Regions from separate parts of the Homo sapiens genome. Here region 2 is linked to region 1. The links are contacts of gene promoters, found by promoter capture Hi-C in blood cells and fetal thymus (Javierre and others, 2016). All regions are on one chromosome and are shown on one strand. The core of a region is centred on a gene start or on the middle of the fragment in contact, and the rest is flanking DNA. Distances in the headings are between cores, read along the strand shown.

What was found. The method cuts DNA at HindIII sites, captures the fragments that hold promoters and counts their contacts. A CHiCAGO score of 5 or more calls a contact.
Region 2: a fragment that was not itself captured here is called in contact with the fragment with the promoter of PROC in region 1 in 1 of 17 cell types (neutrophils); the score reaches 5.7 in neutrophils.

The regions. Positions count from the first base shown.
Region 1 is chr2:127,413,252-127,419,748 of GRCh38, forward strand. It overlaps PROC (protein C, inactivator of coagulation factors Va and VIIIa), which reads left to right and starts at 5,176. Exons shown (of 9, transcript NM_000312.4): 1 at 5,176-5,241. RefSeq lists enhancers at 2,137-2,899, 3,280-3,339. The HindIII fragment of the contact is 16,432 bases long and covers 3,414-6,497 here.
Region 2 is chr2:127,687,090-127,693,586 of GRCh38, forward strand. No RefSeq gene overlaps it. Among named protein-coding and RNA genes, the nearest start is that of SFT2D3, 11 kb to the right of the region's middle. The HindIII fragment of the contact is 6,533 bases long and covers 1-5,976 here.

The DNA of each region.
Region 1 (6,497 bases), core at 3,926-6,425:
TGGGAGAAAGGATAGTGTTTGCAAGAAATGGGACTGTGACAACTAGATCTCCATATATTTTAAAGAATGATTCTTGGCCCCTACCTCACACCATATACCAAAATTAACGAATTCAAAATGGGTCAGAGATGTAAATGTAAGAGTGAAAAACCATAAAGCTTCTAGAAGAAAACATAAGAGAAAGCCTTTGTGACCTTGAATAAGGCAGTGTTCTTTGGTAGGACACAAAAGCACGAATCATAAAAGAAAATGTTGATAATTGGACTTCATCAAAATTACAAACATCTGTTCATTAAAAGACACTGTTAAGTATAAAAGACAAGTCACAGACTGAGAGGAAATTTTTGCAAAATACTTAGCTGACAAAGGGCTTGTTACTAGGATACATACAAATTCTAAAAACTCAATTTAAAAAACCCTCAAAAACAAAGAAACAAACAAAAAACAGCCCAAAGACTTAAACTGGCACTTCACCAAAGAAGATATAAATAGCAAATTAGCACAGGAAAAGATGCTCAAAATCACCAGAGAAGAGGGAAATGAAAATTAAAGCTACAATGAGATACCACTACACATCTATTAAGAAGGCTAAAAATTGAAAATTAAAATTAAAAAACAACCGACAACACCAAATGCTGGTGAGGATGCAGAGCAACAGGAACACTCAGACATTGCTTGGTGGGAATGCAAAATGCCACCACCACTCTGGAAAAGTTTGACTTTATTTTTTTTTCCCAAAAGTAAACACGTACTCACCACATGACTCAGCAATCTTATTCCTAGATATTACCCAAGAGAAATGAAAACATATGCCCACACAAGGACCTATACATAAATGTTCTAGCAGCTTAATTTAATGATAGCCAAGAACTGGCAAATGGATAACAGATTGTGGCACATCTATATAATGGAGCCCAGTCAGCAATAAAAAGAAATAAAGTACTGATATAGAATTCCACATGAATAAATCTCAAAAGCTTTATGCTGAGTGAAAGAAGGTAGTCTTAAAAAGCTATGTACTGGTTGGGCACGGTGGCTCACGCCTATAATCCCAGCACTTTGGGAGGCTGAGGTGGGCGGATCACTTGCGGTCAGGAATTCAAGACTAGCCTGGCCAACATGGTGAAACTAAAAAATACAAAAATTAGGCAGGTGTGGTGGCGTGTGCCTGTAATTCCAGCTACTCAGGAGGCTGAGGCAGGAGAATCACTTGAACCCAGGAGGTGGAGATTGCAGCGAGCTGAGATCACACCACTGCACTCCAGCCTGGGCAAGAGAGCAAGACACCAACTCAAAAAAATATATATATGTGCTGTAGGATTCCCTTTATATGCTATTCTAGAAAATGCAGATTATAGAGATAGAAATCCAATCAGTGGTTGCCAAGAGTTGGGGTGGAACACAGAATTTCTGAGGGTGATGAAAATGTGTATATCATGATGTGGTGGTGGATGCACTATAACATACATTTGTCAAAACAAGCAGAACTGTACATTTTTAAAGTGTGAGTTTCCCTGTGTGTAAATTATACCACAATAACCTGACAACAACAAAAGAGAGAGACGTTGGACTGCATCCATCCCACTCCACTTCTTACCAGGGAGCTCCCGGGAGCCTCTCTAGTGTCTGTCCTCCCTGCCCTGCCTGGGGTGGGCTGAGCAGCACAGCGTCCCTGCAGAGAGAATGGAGAATGGGCAATGCCCACACAGGGGAGTGGCATGGGGTGAGAAGGAACCTTAGTCCCGTCAGCCCTGACCACCAGCCCATCTCTCATCACTGTTCAGCAGAGTGAGCTCAAGTTGGGTTTCTGGCATCTATTGGCAGAGCCAGGGCCAAAACGCAAGGGGTGGGGAGTGTTGTACAGGTTAGGGCTGACTGAATGATCAGCCCTAATCTGTACAACGGATCTGTGCAGTCTGAGCTTCCACACAGCAGCAGCTGTCCTTGACCCCTTCCCCTCCTAGTCGGCCCCTCCCTGACCTTCCCAGGCCTGTGGGAAGTCCTGTTAAGTCCCAGGCCATGTCCACTTTGTATAAAATACTTAAAAATAAGGCCAGGCACAGTGGCTCCCGCCTGTAATCTCAGCACTTTGGCAGGCTGAGGAGGGAGGATCACTTGAGGTCAGGAGTTCTAGAGCAACACAGCAAGACCTCCTCTCTCCTAAAAATTTTTAAAAATCAGCTGGGCGTGGTGGCACGGGCCTGTGATCCCAGCTACTGAGGTGGCTGAAACAGAAGAATCGCTTGAGCCCAGGAGATCTAGGCCGCAGAGAGCTGTGATCCCGCCACTGCACTCCAGCCTGGGTGACAGAGCCAGAGAGACCCTGTTTCAAAACTTTTTTAATTAAAAAATTAATAAAAGATTTAACGTGACCCTTATAACAGTCACCTGAGACGGACGCTGACCCCATTTTACAAATGTGGACATTGAGACACAGGGAAGTTAAATCCCCCTGTCAGAAAAAGGCTAGCGGAGGTTTAAGGCCGTGGGAACGTGACTCCAGAGCTGAGGGCTTTGGAACCCCGCCTGCTCCGGTAGTTGTGGCTGGCCTTGCCCCACACACATTTGGTTCTAGCTCCTTTGCTTGGGTCTTCATCCATGCAGCGAATTCCTTAGCCACAGGTGTCCCTCTGCTCTCTAACTCACAGCGAGCTCGCTGCCCAAAGTCCTGCTCCGGCTTCCTGGGTGGACCTGACCGCGTTCGGGTGCACGTGGGGCGACTCACACCTGACAAGTAAAGCGGGTGAGGCCGCGCCTGTGAAGGGCGCCTGGCTCCTCCGCAGGAGCGGTGCGGCGCGGCGCCCCCGGCTGGAACCAGGTGTAACTGCAGAGACCCTGGGATCGCAGGAACGGCTGGCGGCAGGACTGTCCCTACCTCGAGAAGGTGACGGGGTTTCCTGCGCTGCCAGCCGATGAGGCGGCCGTGACGCAGCCCGCCGTGCAGAGTCCCCGTCGGCCGACAGGCGTGCAGAGCTCTGCAGAGGACCCTTCCGCCCTCTGGGCAGCCTGCCAAGCCGTGGCACCCCCAACCCCCAGCACTGGGCACTTGGGAGCATTGCAGCCGCCCTGGCTCGTACCGGTGCCGGTGCTTTGGGCACCTGGGCTGGTTTGGACATGGGTGCCCCGGGCAGAGTCCATTTATGCAGGTCAGAATCAGTGTGTGGAGCCTGCATAGACTTGCCCTGGAGCGGCTGCCTGTGCTGGGGTGGGGAGGAGTAGAGGGCGAGAAGTTGGTGGGGAAGGGAAGCGGCGCCAAAAGAATACCCACAACATCTTGCACCTGGAAGGCAAAGCAGAGGGCAGTGATCTCTGCAGACTTGCGGGGGCGACGCCTGAAGCAAACAGGGACATACAAGCTGGTGCCTTCTGTGGTTGTGCATGGGGTCTTCATGCTTCCTGTCTGAGTTCCCAGAAGCTTGTCTCTGCTTTTCTAGGCAGCTGCCACAGCCTGTCACAAACAGCTCCTGGTTCTCCACTTCTCATAGTCTCGATTTCAAAATCCATTGCCTCACCCTCCACCTCCTCTCCACCTCCACCCCTCCTAGCACCTCCTGACTGCTTGTGTTCTGTGTCTCCCCACTGTCTCCCAACCTGGGGTGGGGTTGGGGGGGATGTCTTTCCTCCTGTCTGCTCTTTGATGTCCAGCTGAAGTGTCACCTCCTACAGGCAGCCTCCCCTGGCTATGCCAGCTTGTACTGATTGCCCTCTCCTCTGAATTCTGTAAGCATTTCCTATGTGTACCTGCCCCTGGGCAAGGTGGGCCTGACTTGTTAGAGTGTTAGAGTTTTACCCTGTTCCTCTAGGAGGGCCTGGTACCACCACAGCCCAGCATGGTGTGGTGCCTCAGCAGGAGGCATCTGGTTACAATCAACACAAGCTGTTCCAGCCAATTTAAAGAAACTTCAGGAGGAATAGGGTTTTAGGAGGGCATGGGGACCCTCCTGCACCCGAAGCCAGGATGTGCCACCAATCATAAGGAGGCAGGGGCCTCCTTCCGCTGCTCCCTGGGACTCTCTAGGTGTCCGTGGCCTCAGTCCCCCTCTGCACACCTGCATCTTCCTTCTCATCAGCTTCCTCTGCTTTAAGCGTAAACATGGATGCCCAGGACCTGGCCTCAATCTTCCGAGTCTGGTACTTATGGTGTACTGACAGTGTGAGACCCTACTCCTCTGATCAATCCCCTGGGTTGGTGACTTCCCTGTGCAATCAATGGAAGCCAGCGAGGCAGGGTCACATGCCCCGTTTAGAGGTGCAGACTTGGAGAAGGAACGTGGGCAAGTCTTCCCAGGAACAGGTAGGGCAGGGAGGAAAGGGGGGCATCTCTGGTGCAGCCCGGTTCGGAGCAGGAAGACGCTTAATAAATGCTGATAGACTGCAGGACACAGGCAAAGGTGCTGAGCTGGACCCTTTATTTCTGCCCTTCTCCCTTCTGGCACCCCGGCCAGGAAATTGCTGCAGCCTTTCTGGAATCCCGTTCATTTTTCTTACTGGTCCACAAAAGGGGCCAAATGGAAGCAGCAAGACCTGAGTTCAAATTAAATCTGCCAACTACCAGCTCAGTGAATCTGGGCGAGTAACACAAAACTTGAGTGTCCTTACCTGAAAAATAGAGGTTAGAGGGATGCTATGTGCCATTGTGTGTGTGTGTTGGGGGTGGGGATTGGGGGTGATTTGTGAGCAATTGGAGGTGAGGGTGGAGCCCAGTGCCCAGCACCTATGCACTGGGGACCCAAAAAGGAGCATCTTCTCATGATTTTATGTATCAGAAATTGGGATGGCATGTCATTGGGACAGCGTCTTTTTTCTTGTATGGTGGCACATAAATACATGTGTCTTATAATTAATGGTATTTTAGATTTGACGAAATATGGAATATTACCTGTTGTGCTGATCTTGGGCAAACTATAATATCTCTGGGCAAAAATGTCCCCATCTGAAAAACAGGGACAACGTTCCTCCCTCAGCCAGCCACTATGGGGCTAAAATGAGACCACATCTGTCAAGGGTTTTGCCCTCACCTCCCTCCCTGCTGGACGGCATCCTTGGTGGGCAGAGGTGGGCTTCGGGCAGAACAAGCCGTGCTGAGCTAGGACCAGGAGTGCTAGTGCCACTGTTTGTCTATGGAGAGGGAGGCCTCAGTGCTGAGGGCCAAGCAAATATTTGTGGTTATGGATTAACTCGAACTCCAGGCTGTCATGGCGGCAGGACGGCGAACTTGCAGTATCTCCACGACCCGCCCCTGTGAGTCCCCCTCCAGGCAGGTCTATGAGGGGTGTGGAGGGAGGGCTGCCCCCGGGAGAAGAGAGCTAGGTGGTGATGAGGGCTGAATCCTCCAGCCAGGGTGCTCAACAAGCCTGAGCTTGGGGTGAAAGGACACAAGGCCCTCCACAGGCCAGGCCTGGCAGCCACAGTCTCAGGTCCCTTTGCCATGCGCCTCCCTCTTTCCAGGCCAAGGGTCCCCAGGGCCCAGGGCCATTCCAACAGACAGTTTGGAGCCCAGGACCCTCCATTCTCCCCACCCCACTTCCACCTTTGGGGGTGTCGGATTTGAACAAATCTCAGAAGTGGCCTCAGAGGGAGTCGGCAAGAATGGAGAGCAGGGTCCGGTAGGGTGTGCAGAGGGCCACGTGGCCTATCCACTGGGGAGGGTTCCTTGATCTCTGGCCACCAGGGCTATCTCTGTGGCCTTTTGGAGCACCTGGTGGTTTGGGGCAGGGGTTGAATTTCCAGGCCTAAAACCACACAGGCCTGGCCTTGAGTCCTGGCTCTGCGAGTAATGCATGGATGTAAACATGGAGACCCAGGACCTTGCCTCAGTCTTCCGAGTCTGGTGCCTGCAGTGTACTGATGGTGTGAGACCCTACTCCTGGAGGATGGGGGACAGAATCTGATCGATCCCCTGGGTTGGTGACTTCCCTGTGCAATCAACGGAGACCAGCAAGGGTTGGATTTTTAATAAACCACTTAACTCCTCCGAGTCTCAGTTTCCCCCTCTATGAAATGGGGTTGACAGCATTAATAACTACCTCTTGGGTGGTTGTGAGCCTTAACTGAAGTCATAATATCTCATGTTTACTGAGCATGAGCTATGTGCAAAGCCTGTTTTGAGAGCTTTATGTGGACTAACTCCTTTAATTCTCACAACACCCTTTAAGGCACAGATACACCACGTTATTCCATCCATTTTACAAATGAGGAAACTGAGGCATGGAGCAGTTAAGCATCTTGCCCAACATTGCCCTCCAGTAAGTGCTGGAGCTGGAATTTGCACCGTGCAGTCTGGCTTCATGGCCTGCCCTGTGAATCCTGTAAAAATTGTTTGAAAGACACCATGAGTGTCCAATCAACGTTAGCTAATATTCTCAGCCCAGTCATCAGACCGGCAGAGGCAGCCACCCCACTGTCCCCAGGGAGGACACAAACATCCTGGCACCCTCTCCACTGCATTCTGGAGCTGCTTTCTAGGCAGGCAGTGTGAGCTCAGCCCCACGTAGAGC
Region 2 (6,497 bases), core at 1,460-3,959, 270 kb after region 1:
TTACTTCATTTCTTCCAGTCTTGATGCCTTTTCTTTTTCTTGCCTATTGTCCCTGGCTAGAAACCAGAAGTGGAAAGAGCAGACATCCTTGTCATCTTCCTGATCATAGGCTGAAAGCATACAGTCTTTCATCATTAAACATGATTTTAGGACACACATGGTGACTCACACCTGTAATCTCAGCACTTTCGGAAGCCGAGGCAGAAGGATTACTTGAGTCCGGGAGTTCAAGACCAGCATAGGCAACATAAGGAGATCCTGTCTCTACAAAAATTAAAAAAAAAAAAAAATTAGCAAAGCATGGTGGCATGCGCCTGTCTGTAGTCCCAGCTACTTCGGAGGCTGAGGGGGGAGGATCACTTGGGCCCAGGAAGTCAAGGCTGCAGTGAGCCAGGATAGCAACACTGCACTCCAAGCCTGGGCTACAGAGTGAGACTTTGTCTCAAAATATATATATATGATTTTAGCTGTGGGTTTTTCATAAACCCCTTTACAGTGTTGAGGAGGAAGCTCTCTTCCATTGTTGGTAGAAGTCCTCTTCTGTTCTTGTTTTCATTTGTTTGTTTTATCATGAAAGAGTGGTGGGCCAGGCATGGTGGCTCATGTCTATAATCTCAGCACTTTGGGTGGCCAAGGCAGGCAGATCACAAGGTCAAGAGTTTGAGACCAGCCTGGCCAACATGGTGAAACCCCATCTCTACTAAAAATACAAAAATTAGCTGGGCATGGTGGCGCATGCTTGTAGTCCCAGCTACTCGGGAGGCTAAAGCATGATGATCGCTTGAACCTGGGAGGCAGAGGTTGCAGTGAGCCAAGATCGTGCCACTGCACTCCAGCCTGGATGACAGAGTGAGACTCCATCTCAAAAAAAAAAAAAATAGTGGTGAATTTTGTCAAATGCTTTTTCTATGTCTGTTGAAATGTCCATATGAGTTTTGTCCTTCAGTGTATTAATGTAGTGTATTACAGTGATTGATGTTAATATATTATACCAACCTTGCATTCCTGGGATAAATCCCACTTCAATGTGGTATATAATCCTTTGTATATGTTGCTGGATTAGGCTGCTAGTAATTAGTTGAGGATTTTTGTGTATATTCATAAGAGATGTTGGCTGTAATTTTTCATCCATCTCCTTTGTGCTGTTACTGTTAAATAACATTTTGACAAAATGTTGACACATATTACATTCCTATATGTGCATAGCCCATAAAAAGTTACATGCATATTTTCTTATGCAATTACTTTTTAGATCAGTTAAGAGGAGAAGAAGAAATATGCAATTATACTTTATATTGTAATTATCTACTTTTACCAACACTTTTGTTTTTCATGTGGATTCAAATTAGTTTCTGGTGTCACTTGCTTTCTATCTGAAAAACCTTAAATATTTCTTGTTACTCAGGACTGGTAGCAATAAATTCAGTCAGATTTTATTTATTTTGGAGTGCTTTTTATTTTGCCATTATTGTTGAAAGATAGTTTTGTTGGGTATGGAATTATTGGTTAACAGGTTTTTTGTTGTTGTTTTGTTTTTACTGTTAAGCACTTTGAACATGTCATACCACGGCTTTCTAGCCCCCATTGCTTCTGATGAGACATCATTTGTCAATATTATTGTACTACTGGTACACAATGAATTGTATTCCTTTTGCTGCATTTAAGATTTTATCTTTATCTTTGGCTTTCAAAATTTGACTATAATATGTCTGAGTGTGAATGCCTTTGTGTTCATCCTACTTGAAATTCATTGTTTCTCAGATGTTTAGAATAATGTTTTTCATCAAAGTTGGGGAAATTGGTCAGGCACAGTGGCTCTTGCCTTTAGGTGATGAGTAAGCTCAGGACTTTAGGAGGCTGAAGTGGGATGATCATTTGAGGCTAGGAGTTCAAGACCAGCCTAGGAAATACAGCAAGACCCTGTCTTTACAAAAAACTTGAAAATTAGCTGAGCATTGGGGTGCATGCCTGTAGTCCTAGCTACTTGGGAGGTTGAGGCAGGAAGAATGCTTGAGCCCAGGGAGTCAAAGTTAGAGTGAGCTATGCTTGTGCCACTGCCTTCCAGGCTGGGTGACAGAGCAAGACTCTTTCTATAAACATGATAATATTAATAAATTTTAAATAAATAAGCAAATAATTTGGGGAAATTTTCAGCCATTGTGCCTTCTAATAATTTTTATGTCCCTTTCTCTCACTTCTCTCCATTATTCTTATGTGTATTAGTCCATTTTTACATTGCTATAAAGAAATACCTGAGACTGGGTAATTTATAAAGAAAGGAGATTTAATTGGCTCACAGTTCTGCAGGCTGTACAGGAAGTGTGGCAGCATCTGCTTGGCTTCTGGGGAGGCCTTAGGAAACTTATACTCATGGCAGAAGGTGAAGGAGAAACAGGCACATCTTACATGGCCAGAGCAGAAGGAAAAGAGAAGGAGCAGGGAGGTGCTACTTTTTTTTTTTTTTTTGAGCTGGAGTCTCACTCTGGCCTAGGCTGGAGTGCAGTGGTGCAATCTCTGCTCACTGCAACCTCTGCCTCCCAGGTTCAAGTAATTCTCCTGCCTCAGCCTTCCAAGTAGCTGGGATTACAGGCACCCACCACCATACTCAACTAATTTTTGTGTTTTTAGTAAAGACAGGGTTTCACCATGTTGGCCAGGCTGGTCTTGAACTCCTGGCCTCAGGTGATCTGCCCCCCCTTAGCCCCCCAAAGTGCTGGGATTACAGGTGTGAGTCACTGTGCCTGGCCCAGACTTGTAAATGACCAGATTTTATGAGAACTCACTATTATGACTAAGGAGGATGGTGCTAAACCACTGGAAACTGCCCCCATGATCCAGTCACCTCCCACCAGGCCCCACCTCTAACACTGGGAATTATAATTTAACACGAGATTTGGGTGGGGACACAAACCATATCATTTTGCCGCCGGCCCCTCCCAAATCTCATGTCCTTCTGATATTTCAAAATATAATCATGCAGTCTCACAAAGTGTTAACTTATTCCAGCATTAACTCAAAAGTCCAAAATCTCATCTGAGACAAGGCAAGTTCCTTCCACCTATGAGCCTGTAAAATCAAAAACAAGTTAGTTACTTCCAATGGGGGTACAGTCATTGGTTAAATACTCCCATTCCAAAAGGGAGAAATCAGCCAAAAGAAAGGGGCTTCAGGCCCCATGCAAGTTCAAAACCCAGCAGGGTAGTCGTTCAATCTTAAAGGTCCAAAATAATCTCATTTGACACCATGCCCCACATCCAGGGGACACTAGTGTGAGAGCTGGGCTCCCAAGGCCTTGGGAAGCTCTCCCCCTGTGGCTTTGCAGGGTTCAGCCCACATGGCTGCTCTCAAGGGATGGTCTTGAGTGCCTGTGGCTTTTCCAGGTGCAGGATGCAAGCAGCCAGTGGATCTACCATTCTGAGGTCTGGAAGACAGAGGTCCTCATCTCACAGCTCCACTAGGTAGTCCCCCAGTGGGGAGTCTGTGTGGGGGCTCCAACCCCACATTTCCACACTGCCTTAGTAGAGGTTCTGTATGAGGGCTTTGCCCCTGCAGCAGGTTTCTGCCTGAACATCCAGGCATTTCCATACATCCTCTGAAATTTAGGCAGAGGCTCCCAAGCCTAAACTCTTGCATTCTGTGCACCTGCAGGCTTAACACCACATGAAAGTTGCCAAGTTTAATGGCTTGCACCCTCTGAAACAGTGGCCAGGGCCCCTTTCAGCCAGCTGGAGCTGGAGCAGCTGGGATGCAGGGAGTAGAGTCTCAAGGCTGTGCAGGGCAGCAGGGCCCTGGGCCTGACCTAGAAAACCATTCAGTCCTCTGAAGCATCCAGGCCTGTGCTGGGAGGGGCTGCCACGAAGGTCTCTGAAATGCCTTCTAGACCTTTTCCCCATTGTCTTGGCTATTAGCACTTGGGCTCCTCTTTACTTATGCAAATTTCTGCAGCCTGCTTGAATTCCTCCCCCGAAAATTAGCTTTTCTTTTCTACCACATGGCCAGGCTACAAATTTTCCAAACTTTTACACTCTGCTTCCCTTTTAAATATAAGTTCCAGGTTCAGGTCATTTCTTTGCTCACACATATGAGCGTAGGTTGTTAGAAGCAGCCAGGCCAATCCGTAAACACTTTGCAGCTTAAAAATTTCTTCCACCAGATACCCTAAATCATCACTCTCAAGTTCAGAGTGCCACAGATCCCTAGGGCAGGGGCACAACACCACCAGGTTCTGTTGCGAATATGTAACAAAGGTTATCTTTGCTCCAGTTCCCATTAAGTTCCTTATTTCCATCTGAGACCTCCTCACCCTGGCCTTCACTATCCATATTACTATCAGCATTTTGGTCACAACCATTTAACCAGTCCGTAGGGAGTTCCAAATTTCCCCTCATCTTCCTGTCTTCTTCTGAGCCCTCCAAACTCTTCCAACCTCTGCTCATTACCCAGTTCCAAAGTCACTTCCACATTTTCAGGTATTTTTATAGCAATGTCCCACTCCTCAGTACCAATTTTCTATATTAGTCCATTCTTGCATAGCTATAAAGAAATTCCAGAGACTGGGTAATTTATAAAGAAGAGAGGTTTAATTGGCTCATGGTCCTGCAGGCTGTACAGGAAGCATGGCAGCATCTGCTCAGCTTCTGGGGAGGCCTCAGAAAACTTACAATCATGGCAGAGTGCAAATGGGGAACAGGCATGTCTTACATGGCCAGTGCAGGAGGAAGAAACAGGGAGGGGGGAGGTGCTACACACTTTTAAATGACAAGATCTCACAAAAACACACTCACTATCACAACCAAGGGGGATGCTAAATCATTGGAAACCACCCCCATGATCCAATCACTTCCCACCAGGCCCCACTTCCAACATCGTGGATTACAATTTGATATAAGAGTTGGGTGGGGACACAAAGCTAAACCATATCAATATGCTGGTGCACTTAGTGGTGTCCCATATTGCTCTGATGCTCTGCTCATTTTTCTTCATATTTTTCTCTATTTTTCAGATTGCATTATTTCTACTGATGTGTCAAGTTCACTGATTCTTTTCTCTGCCAACTCAAATCTACTGTTTATCCTATCCAGTGAATTTTTCATTTTGTTTTTGTTTTGTTTTGTTTTAGAGGTGAGGTCTCACTATGTTGCCCAGGCTGTTCTCGAACTTCTGGGCTCAAGCAATCCTCCTGCCTTAGCCTCCCAGAGTGCCAGGATTACAGATGTGAGCCACCACTCCTGGCCTTTTCATTTTGTTTATTGTACTTTTCATCTCCAGAATTTTTTATTTGGTTCATTTTTATAATTTCTACTCCTTTATTGATACTCTCCAATGAGACATTGTCATTTAATCTTCATTTAGTTTTTTTTTTTTTTTTAAGAGACAGGGTTTCATTCTATTGCTCAGGCTAGAGTGCAGTGGTGCAATCATAGCTCACTGCAGTCTTGAATTCCTGGACTCAAGCAATCCTTCCACCTCAGCCTACCAAGTAGCTAGGGCTACAGGTGTGTATCACCACACCTGGCTAATTATATTTTTTTGTAAAGACAAGGTCTCACTGTGTCTCCCAGTCTGTTCTCAAACTACAGGCCTCAAGCAATCCTCTCACTTCGGCCTCCTGAAGTGCTGGAATTACAGGCATGAGCCACCACACTTAGCCATAACCAGATATTAATGGAAACAGGAAGAATGAAAAATTTGGTAATGATTGACAGTATGGGCAAAGTAGCAGGATCCAGTCCTATTAGCAGCTAGGTGTCAAAATCTATTCTGCTACATTGAGGAAGAATCTCTACCAGACAAGGGAGTGTTTACATATGCATCAGTTACTTGTGATTTACAAAGAGGTAAAGTAGATTAAATACAATGAACAAGGCTAGAAACTGTAACCTAGAAAAATGTGCTAGGAAGTGTGCATAGCTTTCCATTGAAACACAAGTATTTTTCTTCAATCTCCCTCATTTTGATAAGAATAACCTCAAAGAAAGCTTATTATCGACCCCCCGCCCCCGGTCCCCTACCACCATACACACACCACATCAGACAAAGTTAGTCTGATTAGATTTGGCCTGGTTATTTTTATAGGTACAGCAAGAATGGCCATTTACCATAGGCCTTCTGAGTTTGCTTTATTAGGATTTTGCATAAGGAGTGAAATTTTAAAAACCACTGAGGCCAAGAAGCCAACTTAAGAACTCAACACCAGATCTCACTGGCAGTATCTATAGATTTGAGCAAATTCCTCTCTTAGAAGGGTTCCCAAAATATCCTAAGTTTCCTGGGTTGGCCAGGAAAGGAAAGTAAGGAAGGTCGACCTTCCTTACTCACTTATAATTCTGGGAACACTGTAAGCCAGATACCAGGCTGGTTTTTCCAAGAGGGCTTTGTAAGTGTTGGCTCCATAAAGTCAACCTTAGCTCCTTAAAAGTGTCTGGTCATATATGATTAAATGAGCATCATCCTCAAGTATGACATTCCAGACAAGGCCTTGGTTGTATCTTCAATGT